Regions from separate parts of the Homo sapiens genome. Here region 1 is linked to region 2. The links are contacts of gene promoters, found by promoter capture Hi-C in human tissues and cell types (Jung and others, 2019). All regions are on one chromosome and are shown on one strand. The core of a region is centred on a gene start or on the middle of the fragment in contact, and the rest is flanking DNA. Distances in the headings are between cores, read along the strand shown.

Region 1 (4,212 bases), core at 730-3,229, 620 kb before region 2:
TACAGATGTATTATATATCAATAATACCATGGAAATGAAACTAAAATAGAATTATCAATATTCATCTTGACTCATCTTGACTCAAACCCTGCCCAACATATTTTTACACTAAACTTAATCAGAGAGAGTAGAAAAGTATTAAACCCCATTCTACTGACTGCCAGCATTTTAAGTTGGTATTTAAAGTAGAAAGTGAGAAACCTGTAACAGATTCCTTCAACTTTTTAATTTTTTTTCCTGTAGAGATTATTATGGCAAAATGAACTACCAACTACAAGTACCCAAAAGTTAGTGAAATAAATATTTTTCTGTCTATAGTGAAATATAATCAAGACTGAAGTCCAACACATCTGAAATCTAGAATACTTTAGCACACGTATATAATCATTTTTTTTCTCACCAAGAAACTAAGTGAAGTAAAAAGCATTCTAAGCCTTTTTTTCCATAAAATTACATATTTGGGAAAGTTTTTACTTCCTTTCTGGCAAAATCATATTAAATCTCCCACACTTTATTCTAAATCATTTCCCAAACTTTTCTGAGAAACACTGTGTTCCTTCAGATGTTAGAAGATGTTTTGTAAAAACAGGCTTCATAGTCAATACACCTGGGCAGTTGCATACTGTGCCTCCCAAAAGGAGATTAACAGTGTCCATCAGTGCATTTAAAGTTCTGAGAAATCTTCGGTAATTTATTCAAGTGTCTTCCAAGCTTTCTTAAACATGGAACTTTTTTCTCTTCTTCCTGGAATATCTATTTACATTCACTTATGATATGTGATACAAATTGGTGGAATCCAGTTCTAAACTCTTTGCAACGAACTCTGAACTTACTACTTAAAAAAAAATTCCATTGTAAGTCACAGAAGAGGGAAATTGATGCTTACTAATGAGAACACATGGCTTATTTTTCTACATTATTTTATTTTGCTTTACATATTCATGTCCCTTCTAAACTAAATTGGACCTCCTGTAAAAACTATGGCCAGGGCAGGCAGCTTCTATTTTTTGCTTCAAAGCTTTCCATGGCCTATCTCCACTTCTCAGGAAAAATTCCAATCACAAAACTTTTTTGGGGATGAAATATATTCTCAGCCGATGCAGCAGCAGGGACATGAAAAGGAAAGCAGGAACTTCATCAGCACATGGTCAAGAAAAGCCAAGAACAGTTAGGAATCTAGGTCAGGCTAATCGAGACAGACTATCTTTGGATTAAAAAGGTGGAAAGATGGTAGTGGGCATGTTAATGACGATAGCCATGAGAAGTAAAAGTTTTGAGAACCTGCATGTCTGAAAATGTCTGTACTCTGCTTTTAGGCTTAATGATCGTTTGGTTAAAGAATTCTAGGTCAGAAATCCTTCTTTCAGAATTTTGAAGGCCACATTTCACTGTCTTCTTGTTTCTAGTATTGCTGTGCAGGGGTTGGAGCCATTCGAATTCTTATTCATTGCATGTAACCTGTTTTATCTCTGAAGCATTACAGAATTTCCTCTTTGTTTCAGAGGGTTTGGAAACTTCTCAGTGATGTACCCTGAAGTGAGACTATTTTCACTCACTGAGGTCAACTCAATCATGTGACCTATTTCCTTCAGCCCCAGAAAATTATTCTAAATGATTTAATCACTTATTTTCTCCTCTGTGTTTTCTCTGTTGTCTCTTTCAAAACCTCCTCTTGTCAGATGTTAGATCTCTTGGACTAGTCTTCTAATTTTCTTACTTTTCTTTCCCATTTTCCCCGCCTCCATCTTTCTGCTTTACTTCAATGTAGATTTTATCAACTTTAGCTTCCAATCCTCTCATTGATTGCTTATATTTCTGCTATTATATTTTTAAATTTCCAAGAGCTCTTTTTTTTGGTTTTCAGAAATTCTTTTTGTAATGTCTTGTTCTTGTTTCACATACTGTATTCTCTTATTTCTTTGAGGATAATAAGCTTCTTTGAAAAACTTTTCCTTTCCCTTCATAGTGTATGTTTCCTCAAAATTATTTTTCTTTGTTTTTGTTTCAATGTTTTATATTAGAAGTTTTCTTTTTTCAGATGTTGGTACCCCTTGCTGCCCGCTTATGTTTAAGTGTGGAGGATTAAAAGTTGAAAGGAACGTTGAGTGTGTGTATGGCACTTGTCAACTTTGAGCTTCAGTGAATAGTCATTTGTTGGGGAACCACTAATATCAGTATCTTTAGTTCTTTCCTCTAGGCCAGTTAGGTTCTAGGAGAAAAGTTATCCTATCTCCTACCTAGAGGGTAAAGGTCTAGCTACCAGGGTGCTGGGAGGCCAGCAGGGGGAGGGGGCTGCAGCATTCAGCATGTGGTTTACATATCATCACATAATCCTGTGGTTTTGGTGACAGTGCCCACACTTGTAACTCTACCTAGCATCCCTCATTTCAGAGACCTTTCATCTGCCCTCTCCAGAAAACAAATCTTCAGACTCTGCCATGGGTTGCAGAGGTAGGTGGGTATTCATGGTTAATTGTTCACCTGTCTAAGGACTTAACCACTTTTCAAATGCCTGTTTTGTTTTGTTTTTTCTTTTTTTTAGAAACAGGACCTTGCTCTGTCACCCAGACTGGAGTGCAGTGGTGCAGTCATGACTCACTGCAGCCTCAACCTGGGCTCAAGCGATCCTCCCGCCTCAGCCTTCCTAGTAGCTGAGACTACAGGTGTGGGCCACCAATGCCTGGCTCTTTTCTTGAATTTTTTGTAGAGAAGGGCTCTTGCTACATTGGCAAGGCTGGTCTCAAACTCCTGGCCTCAAGTGATCCTCACTCCTCAGCCTCCCGAAGCTGGGATTACCTCTGTGAGCCACTGTGCCCCCTCAAATAGTTGTTTTTAAATTCTCTTTGTTTAGCACCAGATGGAGTAGGTTTTATAACCCCGTTTCAAATATGAGGCAAGGGAATCTGAAAGAGGCTAAAAATCTTTCCCAAGACCACAAGGCTAGAAAAGGGGAAAGATGGGATTCAAATTCAAGTTTCTCTGATGTCATAGAATATGATCTTAATCACAATTCTATACTTCTACACAATTCTATTACATTAGAATTATTTTTACTGTATTATAGAATTATGTTAAATTTTGAGTATAAAATTTAGAAGGCAGGTAACCAGGACAGTGAGGGGACTTGACATCTTATCTATAATAAATGGTTGATGGATATGCTAATCTTTACCCGAAAAGAGATGGTAGAAGGATGAGAGGCTATATCTAATTATTTGAAGACAATCAGAAAACCTTAATAATAATACCTTCCATTACTCTTAGTTTGCAGGAGCTAGAACTGGGATCAACAGGTAGAACTTACAGAAAACAGATTTTAGCCCACTTCATTAAAAAAAAAACTTTCTCATTGTCATGGTTCTTCACACACGAAAATAATAATGGTGAGTGATGCTCAGAGCTCATGCACAGCCTGAATAACCATTTGGTAGGGATATTTGAGGCAAGATCGGTGCATCACTTTACAGAACTTATCTATTCTTGATGAGATTCTAGGACCCGGCTGGGCATGGTGGCTCACACCTGTAATCCCAGCCCTTTGGGAGGTCGAGGTGGGAGGATAGCTTGGGCCCAGGAATTTGAGAACAGCCTGAGCAACATGGCGAAACCCCTTCTCTACAAGAAGTACAAAAATTAGTTGGGCATGGTGGTGTGTACCTGTGGTCCCACCTACTTGGGAGACTAAAGTGGGAGGACCACCTGAGCCTGGGAGTTTGAGGCTGCAGTGAGCCGTGGTCATGCCAGGGCGCTCCAACCTGGGCAAAAGGGTGAGACCCTGTCTCCAAAAAAAAAAAAAAAAAGATTCTAGGACTCAAAACATATCTGTTAAAGTACTAAGAAAAGACTCTAGAAATAGAATTTGGGTTCCTTCTAGTCAGAAAGAATAACTTAATAAGAAACATTTTAAGTAGGCCAAGACGGAAATAATATTTGAGTCAAATATTAATATCATTTTCTTTTCTTTTTTTTTTTTGAGACGGAGTCTCGCTCTGTTGCCCAGGCTGGAGTGCAGTGGCGCGATCTTGGCTCACTGCAAGCTCTGCCTCCAGGTTCACACCATTCTTCTGCCTCCACCTGACGAGTAGCTGGAATTGCAGGTGCCCGTCACCACGCCCGGCTATTTTTTTTTTGTGTTTTTAGTAGAGACGGGGTTTCACTGTGTTAACCAGGATGGTCTCAATCTCCTGACCTCGTGATCTGCCTGCCTAGGCC
Region 2 (4,181 bases), core at 840-3,339:
GAAAAACAATAGAAGACAATTCTGAAAACCAAATTCTGAACATAGGCTAGTATAGCAAGCAAGCAGGGATAGCATAGAGCCATTTGCTCAACTTCCAGAAAGAGTTACTCTGTTCATCTCTAAAAAATCTTGAAAAGGGCCGGGTGCGGTGGTGGCTCACGCCTGTAATCCCAACACTTTGGGAGGCCGAGGCAGGTGGATCACCTGAGGTCAGGAGTTCGAGACCAGCTTGACCGACAAGGTGAAACTCCGTCTCTACTAAAAATACAATCAACCGGGCGTGGTGGCAGGCGCCTATAGTCCCAGCTACTTGGGAGGCTGAGACAGGAGAATTGCTTGAACCTGGGAGGCAGAAGTTGCAGTGAGCCAAGATCATGCCACTGTACTCCAGCCTGGGCAACGGAGCGAGACTCCATCTGAAAAAACAAAACAGAAAAAATCTTGAAAGGATACTAAGTCTGACACAAGGAAATTAAGTCATGGGACTCTGACCAGATATTCTGTCTACTTCCTTCTCTGCTATGGGCAACTTGGAGGCAGCAACTACTATCAGTTTATCTGTAATGTGAGAATTTATATTACATAACAGATACTGGGGATATAGGATACCATGGATTTTAGTTAATACATTTCCTCATAGAAAATAAGGAAATAACAGTCTTGTTCCTGTCCTAACAATTCTGTTAGACTAATGATCTCCAGTGATTGGCGATTTGACCTGGTTTCTTCCTGGACTATTTGAATGGGTGGATTTGTTGGTGCATCTCTTGTCTTCTTTCCTTTTCCATTCTCCTTTATTTTTGTATTTACATACTTGTATGCAACTTTGTAATCTGATTTTCCCATGTAACATTTTAATTTGATGGGTGGTCTGCGTGTTCACTGGAAAACATATATATATTAAATGTACATTTATGTATATATATAAAATATACATTCATATATATTATATATAATATACATTCATATATATTATATATAATATACATTCATATATCTATCTTTTATATATATATATAGACAAGATCTTGCTCTGTCGCCCAAGCTGGAGTGCAGTGGCATGACCACAGTTCACTGCAGCCTTGATTTCCTGGGCTCAAGCGATCCTCTCACCTCAGCCTCTTGAGTAGCTGGGACTATGGCACACACAACCACACGTGGTTCATTTTTTGTTGTTTTTTGTAGAGACAGGGTCTCACTCTGTTAACCCAGGCTGTTGTATTTTCTTTAAGATTGGTTTAAATTCACACGGACTCCAGCATCAGAACTACCCAGATGTCAGGTTCTGGGCAGAACTTGGGGCAACTGATGAAATGTCTGCTCAGCTGAAGTCAGACACCTGGACACTTAATGCCCTCTTTCCCTGGCTGATGCTCAGTTTCATTTAAGAACCAGGAGAGCCTGATGTTTGTAAACACAGCTTTAGTGGAAGCACGAGGGTTAGGAGTCCCTAGAAAGGTGATATGAAGCCTAGGTGGATGTGAGGGTTGGTGAGATGGGAATTGCACAGCATAGAATCTGACACAGAAGGTACTCAGAAAATTTCGTTTTCCGGCCTGGCGCGGTGGCTCACGCCTGTAATCCCAGCACTTTGGGAGGCTGAAGCGGGCAGATCATCTGAGGTCAGGAGTTCGAGACCAGCCTGGCCAACATGGTGAAACCCCGTCTCTACTAAAAATACTGTACTAAAAATACAAAAAAATTAGCTGGGCGTGGTGGCGGGCGCCTGTAATCCCAGCTACTCGGGAGGCTGAGGCAGAGAACTGATTGAACCTGGGAGGTGGAGGTTGCAGTGAGCCGAGATCACGCCACTGCACTTCAGCCTGGGTGACAGAGCGAGACTCCATCTCAAAAAAAAAAAAAAAAAAAAATTAGCAAGTTATTTGCAGCGTCTATCTCCCACCACCCTGACTGCTGGTCCACACCATACTGTCCCAAGCTTCTCAGGCTGCGGTGCAGACGAAGAAATCATCGCTATGCATGCTGGCCTTGGGATGGGGGCGCAAAGCCCCTGGACGCGCCCCGCCTAGTGGGCGGGAACGACTACAGCCCCCAGCATGACCCGCGGCCGCCCATGCCACGCCCCGCCACGCGTGCGCTTAGGCGCCGCTGAGCGCTGACTGGGTGCGAGTGGGGAAGCTGCTAACCCGACCCGGATTGGCGCTGAGGTGGCCCGTGGGGCAGGTGAGTGCGGGGCGGGAGTCAGCGGAGACCCACCGGCGCCTACAAGTTCCCCTCAGGCGGGGGCTGCGGGGCGGCTGTGGTCGGACTGTCCGACCGAGGGTCGTATGGGCCGAAGGCGCCCACGAGAGAAGCACCGCCTCGGGCCGGAGAGCCGCCGGGCCGACCTTGCTCGCGTCGCCGTTGGAATGGGGGCCGGGGACGCGGCGGGGCGGGGAGGTCGGCTGCGTCCTCCGGTGCGGCCGCCCCTAGACGGCCGAGGCCACCTCAGGTGTTCGGGGCGCCAGCCGGAATCCACCGCGCTGGCAGCCGGGAGCGGTTTTACGAAAACCGCGCCTGAGGCGGGGGGCTTTCTAAAAAGAGCCTGGCTGGCTCTGGCACCGGGACAGCTGCAGACTCCTCCTCAGGTTTAACTTGCGGTTTTCCCTTTAAGATTCAGATCCAGGTGCAGAACCCGGGCTCGGATCCAGGCCCGAGACTCGGAACACCGGTGTGTTTGCATTTTAGCACGGGGGAAACTGAGGCATACGTTAGCCAGAATCATCCGGTGTGGTTAGGACTGGAATTTTGAAAATTATTCTCATACTTAGTTTACTGACCTAGGCTCTTTTTTATTTGGAAAGAAAAATAAAGATGTTTCAAAGGTTGTTTTCAGTGACTGGGTGACTAGTGTATCTTCCAGTCTCACGCTGCACGTTTGTGGTGGGTTGATGGCTCTTTTTTGTTTTGCGGTGGGATAGAGATGTCCTGGAATGTTCTACACCTTTCTTATTCTTTCTTAGTAAATTCAAGTCAAATCAGACTCTGATTCACAAAAACTCATTTTCAACTTCGACTCGTTTACTCGTAGTTTTTGTGACAGGTTTGTGATTAGGTTTATAGGTACATATGTTTCCCGCTTTTCTTGCTCTTTTAGTTCCAATTATCTCTGCACTCTAAACAGTTGAATTACATCTTTGTTTTTACACTATTTCTGTTCTTGGTGATTAATTTGTAATTCTTCTTTTCTTTTCTTTTCTATTTTTTTTTTAAGACGGGAGTTTCGCTCTTGCCCGGGCTGGAGTGCAATGACATGATCTCGGCTCACTGCAAGCTCCGCCTCCCGGATTCAAGTGATTCTCCTGCCTCAGCCTACCGAGTAGCTGGGATTACAGGCGCCCGCCACCACGCCCGGCTAATTTGTGTATTTTTAATAGAGACGGGGTTTTTCGCCATGTTGGCCAGGCTGGTCTCGAACTCCTGACCACAGGTGATCCGCCCGTCTCGGGCCTCCCAAAGTGCTGGGATTACAGGCGTGAGCCACTGCGCCAGGCCCGATTAATTTGTAATTCTATAGATATCTTTCCTGGCTTTTGATAATCCTAAGTGAATGTAGCTTTTTCATCCCTAATTATCATAGTAGCCTGAGCTTTAGTTCTTCTCCCTGTCCCCCCCCCCTTTTTTTTTTTTTTTTTTTTTTGAGACGGAGTCTCGCTCTGTTGCCCAGGCTGGAGTGCAGTGGCGCGATCTCGGCTCACTGCAAGCTCTGCCTCCCGGGTTCACGCCATTCTCCTGCCTCAGCCTCCCGAGTAGCTGGGACTATAGGTGCCCGCCACCACACCCGGATAATTTTTTGTATTTTTAGTAGAGACGGGGTTTCACCGTGTTAGCCAGATGGTCTCGATCTCCTGACCTCGTGATCTGCCCGCCTCGGCCTCCCAAAGTGCTGGGATTACAGGCGTGAGCCACCGTGCCTGGCCCTCCCTGTCCCTTTTTAAGCGTGGAGGTGTGTGGTCTGGGAGGGGAGAGGGTGAGGTGTCTATTGATCAGATATGGGTAATAGGTTAACATAACCCATGACCAGAACATTAAAAGGCTGTAAACAAACAATTGCTTCAATATAAAAACGCATACCTCGTGAATTTGGAAACATGTCAGGTTGATAGAAAAGTGAACTCGGGTAGAACCTCACAGAAATGAACCCGACATTAGGGTGAAATATTGAGAAGGGAAGGGAGGAG

What was found. The method cuts DNA at HindIII sites, captures the fragments that hold promoters and counts their contacts. A contact is called where the count stands out against the background at its distance.
Region 1: a fragment that was not itself captured here is called in contact with the fragment with the promoter of SGSM3 in region 2 in 1 of the 25 tissues and cell types used here (dorsolateral prefrontal cortex).

The regions. Positions count from the first base shown.
Region 1 is chr22:39,744,467-39,748,678 of GRCh38, forward strand. The region is part of intron 6 of ENTHD1 (ENTH domain containing 1); the gene reads right to left. Among named protein-coding and RNA genes, the nearest start is that of ENTHD1, 150 kb to the right of the region's middle. The HindIII fragment of the contact is 5,554 bases long and covers 1-4,212 here.
Region 2 is chr22:40,368,505-40,372,685 of GRCh38, forward strand. SGSM3 (small G protein signaling modulator 3) reads left to right here and starts at 2,090. Exons shown (of 22, transcript NM_015705.6): 1 at 2,090-2,184. It overlaps ADSL (adenylosuccinate lyase), which reads left to right. Exons shown (of 13, transcript NM_000026.4): 13 at 1-863. RefSeq lists an enhancer at 1,776-1,985 and silencers at 2,136-2,245, 2,306-2,475. The HindIII fragment of the contact is 4,461 bases long and covers 583-4,181 here.